Linked DNA regions of Homo sapiens: region 2 is linked to region 1. Evidence: promoter capture Hi-C in human tissues and cell types (Jung and others, 2019). All regions are on one chromosome and are shown on one strand. The core of a region is centred on a gene start or on the middle of the fragment in contact, and the rest is flanking DNA. Distances in the headings are between cores, read along the strand shown.

What was found. The method cuts DNA at HindIII sites, captures the fragments that hold promoters and counts their contacts. A contact is called where the count stands out against the background at its distance.
Region 2: a contact is called between a fragment that was not itself captured here and the fragment with the promoter of L3MBTL2 in region 1, in 1 of the 25 tissues and cell types used here (hippocampus).

The regions. Positions count from the first base shown.
Region 1 is chr22:41,202,134-41,209,031 of GRCh38, reverse strand. It overlaps L3MBTL2 (L3MBTL histone methyl-lysine binding protein 2), which reads right to left and starts at 3,720. Exons shown (of 17, transcript NM_031488.5): 1 at 3,646-3,720. The coding sequence starts at 3,669. RefSeq lists an enhancer at 2,376-2,876. The HindIII fragment of the contact is 28,306 bases long and covers 1-3,858 here.
Region 2 is chr22:40,625,961-40,632,858 of GRCh38, reverse strand. The region is part of intron 1 of MRTFA (myocardin related transcription factor A); the gene reads left to right. Among named protein-coding and RNA genes, the nearest start is that of MRTFA, 7.3 kb to the left of the region's middle. The HindIII fragment of the contact is 9,289 bases long and covers 1-6,898 here.

The DNA of each region.
Region 1 (6,898 bases), core at 2,471-4,970:
CAGTGGCCCACACCTGTAATCCCAGCACTTTCCGAGGCCAAGGTGGGTGGATCACGAAGTCAGGAGTTCAAGACCAACCTGGCCAAGATGGTGAAACCCCGTCTCTACTAAAAATACAAAAATTGGCTGGGTGTGGTGGCGGGTGCCTGTAATCCCAGGTACTTGGGAAGCTGAGGCAGAGAATTGCTTGAACCCGGGAGGTGGAGGTTGCAGCGAGCTAAGATCGCGCCACTGCACTCCAGCCTGGTAATGGAGTGAGATGCTGTCTCAAAAAGAAAAACAAAAATTCTTCCCCGTTCAATATACATCAAAATGATCTCAACTCAGAAACAATTTAAGTCACAGAAAAGTTAATTTGGGACCTAGACTGCTCCAAAGAGGATGGGAGAGGCAGATGACACACAGATAACTGTGGCATCTTGGTGTGTACTACAGCGCTAGATTCAGCTCTGAGCCTAACTAGCTATAGGGCCTTGGGCAAGTCATTTAACTTCTGTGGGCTTCAACTTTCTCATCTATAAAATAAAAATATTTGACTCGTGAGATGCAAATGAGATAATGTATATGAATCTACCCAGCATGTAACAGAAAACGTGTGAAGAGCCTGGGTACGGTGGTTCACATCTGTAATCCCAGCACTTTGGGAGGCTGAGGCAGGTGGATTGCTTGAACCCAGGAGTTTGAGACCAGCCTTGGCAACACAGCCACACCCCATCTCTACAAAAGAAAAAAAAATTAGCCAGGTGTGGTGGCATGCGCCTGTAGTCCCAGCTTCTTGGAGCTGAGGTGGAAGGACTGCTTGAGCCTGGGAGGTCAAGGCTGTAGTGAGCCATAACCATGCCACTGCAATCCAGCCTGGGCAAGAGAATGACATCCTGTCTCCAAAGAAAAAGAAAAAAAAGCTGGGTGCGGTGGCTCACACCTATAATCCCAGCACTTTGGGTGACCGAGGCGGGCGGATCACTTAAGACCAGGAGTTCAAGACCATCCTGGCCAACATGGTGAAATCCCATCTCTAGTAAAAATACAAAAAATAGCTGGGCATGATGGTGGGTGCCTGAAATCCCAGCTACTCGGGAGGCTGAGGCAGGAGAATCACTTGAACCCAGGAGTTGGAGGTTGCAGTGAGCCGAGATTGCACCACTGCCCTCCAGCCTGGGCAACAGAGTGAGACTCCTTCTCAAAAAAAAAAAGCTGGGTGGTGGTGGCATGCACCTGTGGCTCTAGCTACTCAGAAGGCTGAGGTGGGAAGACAGCTTGAGCCTGGGAGGTCAAGGCTGCACTGAATCATGATCACACCATTGCACTCCAGCCTGGATGACAGAGGGAAGACACTGTCTCAAAGGAAAAAAAAGGTGTGAAGAAAGGAGAAAAGTTTGGCCTCTGGTCCAGAGCTCAAATATCTCTAGTGCTTACTCGCTGTATGACCTGCAGCAAGTCAATTTTGCAGTGCTTCAGTTTCCACATCTGTACAATGAGGATAGTACCACCTATTTCATAGGGTTTGGGGGCTGGCCATGGTGGCTCATGCCTGTAATCCCAGCACTTTGGGAGGCCGAGACAGGAGGATTGCTTGAGCCTAGGAGTTCAAGACCAGACTGGGCAACATAGGGAAACCCTGTCTCTATAAAAAATGGAAAAAATTAGCTGGGTGTTTTGGTTAGGGAGGCTGAGGTGGGAGGAACTCTTGAGCCAGGGAGGTCAAGGCTGCAGTTAGCTATGACTGCACCACTGCACTCCAGCCTGGGTGACAGAGAGCAACCCTGTTTCAAAAAAAAAAAAAAAAAAAAAAAAAGGATTTGGGGGAGAAGTAAGAGACGATACAGGCAAAGCTCTCAGAATAGTGACTTGCATATAGTAAGTGCTCAATAAAGGTTGCCAATTTTTACTGGTTGAAAGCATAGGCTCTGATTTGCCTGAGTTTGAATCCTGGCTCTAACATTTATTAACTGTGTGATTTTGTGCGTATTTTATCTTGCTGCTGTCATCATTACAAGAGAGGTAATAAGCTTTCTTTAGAGAATTCTTACGAAGATTGAGATAAGATATGTAAAACCTAGTTCTATTTCCAGCAGTCAGTAACAGCTCTAAAAGTGTGACTTGCTATTCTTATTCTCCACATGATTATTCTCGTTTACCCTTGCAGAAAGTTTGAGCTATTCCACCTTATATTTGCAACTACACATGCAAATATGCTAGAAAGGAAGCAATTTTTTTTTTTTTTTGAGACACAGTCTCGCTCTGTCGTCCAGGCTGGAGTGCAGTGGTGCAGTGGCCCGATCTCGGCTCACTGCAAGCTCCGCCTCCCACGTTCACGCCATTCTCCCGCCTCAGCCTCCCGAGTAGCTGGGACTACAGGTGCCTGCCACCACGCCCGGCTAATTTTTTTGTATTTTTAGTAGAGATGGGGTTTCACCATGTTAGCCAGGATGGTCTCGATCTCCTGACCTCGTGATCTGCCCGCCTCGGCCTCCCAAAGTGCTGGGATTACAGGCGTGAGCCACCGCACCCAGCAAGGAAACAATTCAAATATAGGTACCCTTGTCAGGCAGGGTGACAGAGACCACCTATAGTCCCAGCTACTTAGGAGGCTGAGGTGTAAGGATTGCTTGAGCCCAAGAGTTAGAGGCTGCAGTGCGTTGTCATCACGCCTGTGAGTAACCACTGCATTCCAGCCAGGGCAACATAGGAACACCCCGTCTCTTAAATATAAGGTGCCCAGAAACCAAATGATTAAAGGATGAGGCGGGGTGCAGTGGCTCATGCCTGTAATCCCAGCACTTTGGGAGGCCGAGGTGAAGCAGACAGATCACCTGAGGTCAGGAGTTCGAGACCAATCCGACCAACATGGCAAAACCTCGTCTCTACTAAAAATACAAAAATTAGCCGGGTGTGGTGACACATGCCTGTAATCCCAGGAACATGGGAGATGGAGACAGAATTGCTTGAACCCGGGAGACGGAGGTTGCAGTGAGCCGAGATCGCGCCACTGCACTCCAGCCTAGGTGACAGAGCAAGACTCCGTCTGAAAGAAAAAAAAAAAAGGATGAGTGGGTTCCAGGTTGCAGTACAGTGTGAAAAGCATAACAGGCAAAGTTTCAGAGGCGGACAGACTTAGTGCCAATCTCCTTCACTTTCCAGCCGGGGTAACTTCCTGGGGTGTCGCACCACCTCTAAGCCTCAGTGGCTTGAACGACAAAGACGAAAGAATAATACATGATTGCTGTGAGTGTACTGGAAGATAATGCACGTGAACGTTACAGACAAGGAGTGATGTTCACCCAACTTTAATCTCCCTTCACTTCCCACCTCATGTAACAGGCCTCACAAGCCCTAAACAACACAGCCACGAGACAAGCAGGATAAGGAAGATTCAGGAGCTCTCAGATCCTAAACCTAGTTCCCTTTCCCCCAGGCCAGGGACGGCTGTTCCTCCCTGAACTCCTCGCCGAACGTTGGCCCCAGCAGGAGAGGGGCAAAAAGTAACGTCAATTGCCTCTGCCCCTGGCTCAGTTTAACTACCTCAGTTTATCCATCCTCCCACCCTCCACCCTCCAGGCGTCGCTAAAAGCCCTAAAGAAGGGCCCACGGAGCGAGGCTCTCGGAGTTCCCTTTCCCAGTCACGCTAAGTCCTCGCCTTCTCACCTCAATACTCCGGGGCTTCTCCATGAGACCTCAGTTTCGCCAAGCGTCACCAGGTGCAGGAAGCCATATTGGCCTGCCCCGTCGCTCTCCGCGAGAGCACTCATTGGTCGCCTCCCTGAGCCGCGGGCCAATCACGCTGCAGGAAGGAGGAAAAGCCGGTTCCGTGCCTGCTCCCGCCATTCTCTCCCTGTGGGCGGGGAAGCCGCGGGCGGTTATGGGAATTGTAGTTCGCATGTGTGCAGGGTGAGTCGTTACCATAGCGACGTGGAAACCAGGGGCGCTGGAAACCTGGTGCGCCTCACGCCGAGTGTTCCAATTACGCCAACCTCTTGACTTCACTGGATGTTATTCTTCCCTAAACGGTTATTGAGCACCTATGATAGTCACTGTTCCAGACTCCAGGAATAACCTCGTACTCTCCCGGGTTAGATATTTAAGGTGCCCTTTTGCTGGGATGCATAGCAGAGGGACTCATTTCCAACTCAGGCAGAAACTGGACTACTCCAGATTAAAAAGAAAAAAAAAAGGAAGAAACTGGAATACTCTGTGTGTGTGTGTGTGTGTGTGTGTGTGTGTGTGTGTGTGTGTGTGTGTGTTTTCTTGAGACGAAGTCTTGCCCTGTCGCCCAGGCTGGAGTGCCGTGGCGCGATCTCGGTTCACTGCAACCTACGCCTGCCAGGTTCAAGCGATTCTCCTGCCTCAGCCTCCCAAGTAACTGGGACTACAGGCGCCCACCACCAAGCCCGGCTAATTTTTGTATTTTTTAGTAGAGACGGGGTTTCACCAGGCTGGTCTTGAACTCCTGACCTCGGGATCCACCCGCCTCGGCCTCCCAAAGTGCTGGGATTACAGGCGTGAACCACCGCGCCCGGCTGAAACTGGAATATTCTTTTTCTCAATACTGTAAATGTCCAGCCTGCTCAAAATCTTACAACATTCCTCCTTCACCACTCTCTCCTGGGTAAAAACCTCGAATCTGAGGCTCTCTGCCTCATCCCGTTAGGGTTTCCCACAACCTCCTTAGACACCCTGAGTTCTAGGTGCTGTTGTGGAGCTTTGCAAACATCTTTTCAAACCCTTAGACATCCTATCACCGTTTGAAAGAAGAGGAAGTGGTGGCTCTTCACCACTTCAGGTTTAGGCACTTTCCAAGATCACACAGGATTGGGATTCCAAATTTAGTACAGATTCCTTCCCTATGCCATGCCGTGTCCCAGTGAATTAATTGAGACTCTAAATGCAATATGTGGAGGCTGAATACATATAAAATATATGCCTAAATTTGAAGTCCGCCGTGGAGATGTCAAACTCTTCCTAGAGGTCTTTCTTTCCTTCAACCCCTTCCACCCTAAACCCCTGTATCCATGCTGTCAACGTGTTGGTTTTTCTACCTCCAAAATATATCCTGTATTTCCTCCACCACTACCACTCTAATACAAGCCACCGGCCCATTGCAGCAGCCCTTCAACTGGTCACCCTTTCTTTCTTTCTTTTATTGATTGATTGATTGATTGAGATGGAGTCTCCCCTGTCGCCCAGGCTGGAATGCAGTGGGATCTCCACTCACTGCAACCTCCACCTCCTGTGGTCACCCTTTTTAAATCTTCACCTTTAATACACACAGGTGATCTTTAAAACTCATTGACCTGGCCGGGTGCAGTGGATCACGCCTGTAATCCCAGCACTTTGGGAGGCCAAGATGGACAGATCACAAGGTCAGGAGATCGAGACCAGCCTGGCCAAGATGATGAAACCCTATCTCTACTAAAAATACAACTATTAGCTGGGTGTGATGACGGGTGCCTGTAATCCCAGCTACTTGGGAGGCTAAGGCAGGAGAATCGCTTGAACAAGGGAGTCAGAGGTTGCAGTGAGCCGAGATTGCACCACTACACTCCAGCCTGGGCAACAGAGCAAGACTCCATCTCAAAAAATAAAAATAAAAATAAATGTTCTGGAATAAGATAGTGGTGAAAAAAAAAGAAAAAGACAGGTTGGTTCAGCAAGTGCAAAGGCCACATTGGTGGAACAGCAAGTGCAAAGGTCCTGGGGCCAACTCAAGCTTGGTATGCAATAAACAGAAAGACAGAGAGAGTAGATGGATATAGCAAAACATGGAGAGGGTGATACAAGATGAGGTTTGAGAGAAAGCTGAGACCAGGTCATTCAGGGTCTTGTGGAGTGCTTGGATTTTATTCTGTGCAAGGGAACGGCATTAGAGTTTTTTTGTTTGTTTGTTTTTGAGACAGAGTTTCACTCTTGTTGCCCAGGCTTGAGTGCAATGGCGCGATCTCGGCTCATCACAACCTCTGCCTCCCAGGTTCAGGCAATTCTCCTGCCTCAGCCTCCCAAGTAGCTAGGATTACAGGCATGCACCACCACACCTGGCTAATTTTTTTTTTTTTTTTTTGTATTTTTAGTAGAGATGGGGTTTCTCCATGTTGGTCAGGCTGGTCTCGAACTCCCGACCTCAGGTGATTCGCCCACCTGGGCAAATGGTCTTGATCGCCTGACCTCGTGATCCGCCTGCCTTGGCCTCCCAAAGTGCTGGGATCACAGGCCTGAGCCACTGTGCCCAGCTAAAAATTTTTTAAAATTAGCTAAGTGTAGTGGCATGTACCTGTGGTCCCAGATACTCTGGAGGCTGAGGAGGGAGGATTGCTTGAGCCCAGGAGGTTGAGGCTACAGTGAACCATGTTCATGCCACTGCACTCTACCCTGGTGACAGAGAAAAAAAAAAGTTGTCTGGCTGGGCATGGTGGCTCACACCTGTAATCCCAGCACTTTGGGACGCTGAGGCAGGTGGATAACTTGATATCAGGAGTTCTGCCAGACGCGGTGGCTCACGCCTGTAATCCCAGGACTTTGGGAGGCCAAGGTGGGCGGATCACCTGAGGTCAGGAGTTCAAGACCAGCCTGGCCGACATGGTGAAACCCCATCTTTACTAAAAATACAAAAATTAGCCGGGCTTGGTGAGGCATGCCTGTAATCCCAGCAACTCCGGAGGCTGAGGCAGGAGAATCGCTTGAACCTAGGAGGCGGAAGTTGCAGTGAGCTGAGATCGCGCCATTGCACTCCAGCTTGGAAAAAAAACAAAAAAGGAATTCTAGACCACCCTGGCCAACATGGTGAAAACCCTGTGTCAATTAAAAAAAATTACAAAATATTAGCCTGGTGTGGTGGCACAAGCGTATAGTCCCAGCTACTTGGGAGGCTGAGGTGGGTGGATCACTTGAGGTCAGGAGTTTGAGA
Region 2 (6,898 bases), core at 2,823-5,322, 580 kb after region 1:
ATTACCTCGAAAGTTAGTGTTTAAGACAACATTTCTTATTTTTCACAGTTTCTGTGAGTCAGGAATTTGGAATCAGCTTGGCTGAGTGATTCAAACTCAGGTCTCTCAAAAAATTGCAATAATGGCTGGGCACGGTGGCTCACACATGTATTCTCAGCATTTTGGGAGGCTGAGGCAGGTGGATCCCTTGAGGTCAGGAGATCGAGACCAGCCTGGCCAACATGGGGAAACCCCGTCGCTACTAAAAATACAAAAATTAGGTAGGTTTGGTGATGCACGCCTGTAGTCCCAGCTACTCAGGAGGCTAAGGCATGAGAATCACTTGAACCTGGGAGGCGGAGGTTGCAGTGAGCCAAGATTGCACCACTGCACTCCAGCCTGGGCGGCAGAGTATCTAAAAAAAAAAAATTATCTGGGAGTGGCAGCCCATGCCTGTAATCCCAGCTACTCAGGAGGCTGAGGCATAAGAATTGCTTGAACCAGGGAGGTGGAGGTTGCAGTGAGCTGAGATCGTGCCACTGCACTCCAGCCTGGGTGACAGAGCAAAACTGTCTCAAAAAAAAAAAATTGCAGTAATATGTCAGCTGAGGTAGCAGTCATCTGAAGGCTTGACTGAGGCTGGTGAATCCTTTTTCAAGGTGGCTACTCATATTGCTGGCAGGTTGGTGCAGGCTGTTGGTGGGAGATCTCAATTCCTCTTCATGTGGGCCTCTCCGCATGAATGCCTTCATGGCATGGCAGCCAGCTTGCCTCAGAGCATGTAATACAAAAGACCAAGCTGCTGCATTGACTTTTATGACCTAGCTTCAGAAGTCACATACCATCATTTTTCCAGTATTCTGTTGGCCACACATTGTGGGAAGGGACTACACAAGAATGTAAATGGCAGGAGGTGAGGGTCATTGGGGGCCATCTTGGAGGCTGGCCACGACAGTGGGTAAAGTAGAAAATGTTGAAAAGAAGGTACTGAAGTTCTGAAGTAGGGGAGAGGGGAGGACTCAGAGTAGGAAAGATTACCTTTGGAGGAATGAAGGAATGGGAAAAATTTAATTCCTTTATCAGATATTTATAAATATTTATTGTGTGTTTACTATGTACCTTTCACATGGAGGCTAATATGTGGAGGTAGACACTAAATTAGGTTCACATGAAATGTTTTAAGTAATTTAGGCCAGTGTTGACATAAGGAAAAATATTTGAAATCTATGTGTATGGTGAAGGTGGAGTCATTTTTTTTTATATTGATGAAAACAGTAACTTAGTGATAGATGAGCAGTTACACAGCATAAGTAGTTAACATAAATACTAGAGTCATACTGCATAGATCGGAATCCTGGCTCTACTTGCCGGCCGTGTGTATGAACTTGGACTGTGTGACTATGATACTCTTGCTACTTTATATTCTCTGTGACTCACTAGCTGTAAAATGGGGATAAAAATGGGGCCTGCTTCATATTGTTGCTGTGAGGATTAAATAAAAATATATAAAGTCCTTGGAACAGCTTTACATGCATGTCATTATCATGGTTATTATGATCATCATTGGTTTTGGGCAGTAGCGTAGAACTGACTGGGTGAATTAGTTTGGAGTCAGAGAGATGAATGAATATAGACTGATATGAGTATGCAGAAGGAGGCATTTAAATGTTAACCATTGCTGCTTCACCATCAATTTTTCTATGTCAAGTACCTACATCTAGATAATTTTTATTTTACAAAGTAGAGTGAACCAGTGGCTTTATTTAGGTGAATTCCACAGTTAAAATAAGACCCAAGGAGGTGCACAAGTTGCCATTAAGGGTGTCTCTTACCATCTTGTATCTTTGAATTTACTGGGCTCTCTGTCTGTAGAATGGGTTTAGCTGGAAGCAGTACTTAAAAGAGCATGTGCTTCACAAGAGCTAGGGCCCATAATAAAAATACCTAGAATGAGAACCTGTGTGGCTGAGTTTGAGGGACAAGGTTAACCTGGAGGGAATTTCAAAGGTATAGGCCTGGTACTGTGGCTCATGCCTATAATCCCAGCCATGTGAGAGGCTGAGACAGGAGGATTGCTTGAGCCCAGGAGTTTGAGGCTGCAATGAGCTGTGATCACACCACTGTGCTCCAGCCTGGTTAACAGATGAGACACTGTCTCAAGTAAATAAATAAATTAGAAAGTTAATTATAAGAAACTTCTAAATCTGGAGTATAGAAGTTTAGGAATTCAAAGGACGGATTTTGTGAAACTGCATCAGTTTAGATAAACTCTTTAGAGGCAGTAGTGATCTTCCTAATGAAGATGACTTCCATTTTACTACTTTAGGAAGTAGATTTGTTACGTCGAAAGGAAAGGAAATAGAAATGGATTCAGCTTTCTCCAAGTTGAAGTCTGAAATCTCTGATTTTGTACAACAGAAAAACGATTCTGTTGACTTAAAAACTGCCCAGGTGTTTTTTTGTTTGTTTCTTTTGTTTTGTTTTTAAAGAGACAGAGTCTCACTCTGTCATCCAGCTACCACACCCAGGCCTGTACCTTTTATTTTTTTATTTTTATTTTTTGAGAGACAGAGTCTCGTTCTCTTGCCTAGGGTAGAGCACAGTGGTGTGATCATGGCTCACTGCAACTGCCGCCTCCCAGGTTCAAGCGATTCTCCTGCCTCAGCTTCCCAAGTAGCTGGGATTACAGGTATGTGCCACCATGCCCAGCTAATTTTTGTATTTTTTAGTAGAGGCAGGGTTTCACTATATGTTGGCCAGGCTGGTCTCAAACTCCTGACCTCAGGTGATCCGCCTGCCTTGGCCTCCCAAAGCGCTAGGATGATAAGCATGAGCCACCGTGCTTGGCCAGTCCTGTACCTTTTAAATGCCCTCCAGATTAACCTTGTCCCTCAAACTCAGCCACACAGGTTCTCATTCTAGGTATTAGTGTGGGCCCTAGTTCCACCTCTAAGCTCTTGTGAAGCATATGGTGGGATCATAGCTCACTGCAACCTCAAAACTCCTTGTCTTAAGTGATCCTTCTGCCTCTGCCTCCTGAGTAGCTAGGACAACAGCATGTACCACCATGCTTGGCTAATTTTTTTTTTTTTTTTTTTTTTTTTGAGATGGAATCTTGCTCTGTCACCCAGGCTGGAGTGCAGTGGCGGGATCTCGGCTCACTGCAAGCTCCGCATCCTGGGTTCAAGCAATTCTCCTGCCTTAGCCTCCCGAGTAGCTGGGATTATAGGCACCCACCACCACGCCCAGCTAATTTTTTGTATATGTATATATTTTTTTTAGTAGGGACGGAGTTTCACTATGTTGGCCAGGCTGATCTCGAACTCCTGACCTCAGGCGATCCATCCGCCTCGGCCTCCCAAAGTATTGGGATTACAGCGTGAGCCACTGTGCCTGGCCTGCTTGGGTAATTTTTTTTTTTTTAATTATGTTTTGAGACGGAGTCTTGCTCTGTTGACCAGGCTGGAGTGCAGTGGTTCGATCTTGGCTCACTGCAACCTCCGTCTCCCGGGTTCAAGCCATTCTCCTGCCTCAGCCTCCCAGGTAGCTGGGACTACAGGCATGTGCCACCATGCCCGGCTAATTTTTTTGTATTTTTGGTAGAGACGGGGTTTCACCATATTGGACAGGCTGGTCTCAAACTCCTGACTTCAAGTGATCCGCCCGCCTCGGCCTCCCAAAGTGCTGGGATTACACATGTGAGCCACCGCGCCCAGCCTCTGCTTGGCTAATTTAAAAAATTTTTTTTGTAGAGAAGAGAAGAGAGTCTTGCTATATTGCCTAGACTAGTCTCAAATTCCTGGCCACAGCAATCCTCCTGCCTTGGCCTCCCGAAGTGTTGGGATTACAGGTGTGAGCCACCGTGCCTGGCCAAAATTCTTAAAAATACTGAATCCATATCACATGTATGAGGAGAGAAGATAATTACACTCTGTGTCACTGCAGGTGTTAAAGCAGAAATTGGGTGACCTGTCAGGGTGCATTGGGTGGAACTAATTGCTCAAGTTGCCTTCAGTTCTGTGGTTCATGACTCAAGTCCAGTTCTCTCATTGTTTAGTGGGAGGAGGCACTGTGAAATTAAATGATTTGAGTTCCACAACAGTCCAGGGGCTGAGCCCAGGCCAGTTCCTCACACAGTATTTAAGGCCGGCTCATATAGCAGTAATAGAAGATCTGTAGAATCCTTGGAAGAAAGAGCGTTGTGAAAATGTCTTTTTTTTTTTTTACTTCCACATTTTTACTTCTGTGGTATGTTTGGTTCATTTGCTCCCCACTCATTCTTATTGATATGCATTTAGAAATCATTCTCTGTGTAAATGAGAGCTTGTAATGAGTAATTTGGCTAGTTCATTTTGAGATCTGGAGTGTGTCCTCTGTTACTGAATTTCTAGATAGGTAGGCTATTTACAGGTCTTTGTCCTCTAAAATTATGAGTGGAAATTATGGGTGATTCTGGTTTTTGAAAATAATTGTTCTTGTATTAAAATTTAAAGCATAATGGGCATAATTCAAACAAAGTTCTGAACTTCATAATATGACAGAGTAAAATATCCAGTGAGGTAACATGTCCATGTCAAGTTTTAGGGCACAGCAGATCTGGGTACTGACAGTTACCAGGTATGTGACTGTAGGCTTACTCCTTAACCTTCCTGTGATTCAGCTTCTTCATCTGTAAACTAGAGTTAATAATCCTTACAACATGAGGTCGTTATAAGGATTATGAAGAAATGTAAAGAGGGAAGTAATAGGGGCATCTACTTTATAGTAGACATTGTGCTACCTTATTAATCCTCATATGAACTCTGAAATAAGTGGTAGTAGCAGCATTTTGCAGATGAGCAAAGAGAAGCTTCTAGAGGAACTTCTAGATAACAGGATTTTTGTTGTTGTTTTGCTTTTTTGTTTTTTTTAGACAGAGTCTTGCTTTGTCTTCCAGACATGAGTGTAGTGGCAGGGTCATAGCTCACTGTGTCCTCAAACTCCTGTAACCTCAAACTGCTGAAGCAGTTCTCCTGCATAACTAGGACTATAGGCGTGTGCCATCATGCCCGGCTAAATTTTTTTGTGCAGGCGGGGTGTCACAGTGTTCCCCAGGCTGATCTTGAACTCTTGCCCTCACGCTTTGACCTCCTAAACTGTTGAGATGACAGGCATGAGCCGCTGTGCCTGGCCAGGATTTGAATCCAGATCTGTTTTTGAATTAAATAATTCTGGCTTCCTACCATGATGTATATGAAGTTCCTAACTTTGCCTCTAGTAAATGTCTTTTCGTGTTCAGTGTCTTTTGCATAGTTAGCGAAAATGTCAGTTATAGTGAGAACTCTTTGTAGTAGTAATCAAGATGTTATAGCTCAGAAAATATTCTGTGCGGTATTCATTATATGTATCTGGTTGCCATTCCTGAGGTGGAAAACTATAATAGTAACCTCACATCTTAAGTTGCTCAATTAATACTTGCCAAATAAGGGCCAGGCATTATGGCTTACACCTGTAATCCCAGCACTTTGGGAGGACAAGGTGGGAGGATCACTTGAGCCCAGGAGTTCAAGACCAGCCTGGGCAACATGACAAGACCGTGTGTCTACAAGAAGTAAAAAAAGTAGCTCAGCATGGTGACATGCACTTGTAGTGCATGAGCCCGGGAGATCGAGGCTGCAGTGAGCTGTGTTTGTGCCACTGCACTCCAGCCTGGGCAACAGAGTGAGACTGTCTCAGAAACAAAAAAATTACCAAATAAAGGCATACTGTAATATCCACATTTTTAGAATTTTTTTTTTTGTCAGTGTTTCAGTATCTTTTAAATTGTAAATGGGGTAAGTGATCCAGGGTCTCTTGATTGTGGTTAATTTGTACATATTTTCTCTACCACAAAATTTACAGGAACTTGGAAAGTTGTCCTTTCCTAATATTTTAGAATGCACTGTGTTGAATTTTGGTGTTAGAGTGGTGTTATCATGGTTGAAACTTTGGCTTTAGTTAGTGTGTGTGTGTGTGTGTGTGTGTGTGTGTGTGTTTGAGACAGGGTCTCATTCTGATACACAGGCTGGATCGCAGTGGCACGATCGTAGCTCACTGTAACCTTGAACCCCTGGCCTCAAGCAGTTCTCCCGCCTTGAACTCTCAAAGTGTTGGGACTACAGGCATGAGCCACTATGCCTGGCCCTGGCTTTGTGTTTCGTATTTAGTTATATGATGGATATATTTAAAGTAGTCTTTTTGAGTTTGCCATATATATGTGTATATATTGTCTTTCCTTTAAAATGTAGAGCAAGAGAAATTTAGAAATTAAAAGTAAGGGTTGGCTGGGCGTGGTGGCTCACGCCTGTAATTCCAGTACTTTGGGAGGATTGCTTGAGCTTAGAGGTTCAAGACCAGCCTAGATAACATGGCAAAACCCCGTCTCTACAAAAAATACAAAAAATAACCGGGCGCGGCGCTGTGCACCGATAATCCCAGCTACTCTGGAAACTTGAGGCGTGGGAGAGAATTGCTTGAGCTTGGGAGGTGAAGGTTGCAGTGAGCTGTAGTTGCGCCACTGCACTCCAGCCTGGGTGACAGAGCCAGACCTCATCTCAAAAAAAACGAGTAAATCTTAGGACAGGCATGGTAGCCCATGCCTGTAATCCCAGCACTTTGGGAGGCCAAGGTGGGTGGATCACCTGAGGTCAGCAGTTCGAGACCAGTCTGCCAAGATGGCGAAACCCCATCTCTACTAAAAATACAAAAAAATCAGCCGGGTGTGGTGGTGGGGGTCTGTAATTCCAGCTACTTGGGAGGCTGAGGCAAGAGAATTGCTTGAACCGGGGAGGTGGAGGTTGCAGTGAGTTGAGATCATGCCACTGCACTCCACCCTGGGGGACAGAGTGAGACACTTTCAAAAAAAAAAGTAAGGGTTATTTTCTTTTTTGTCCATTGTTTA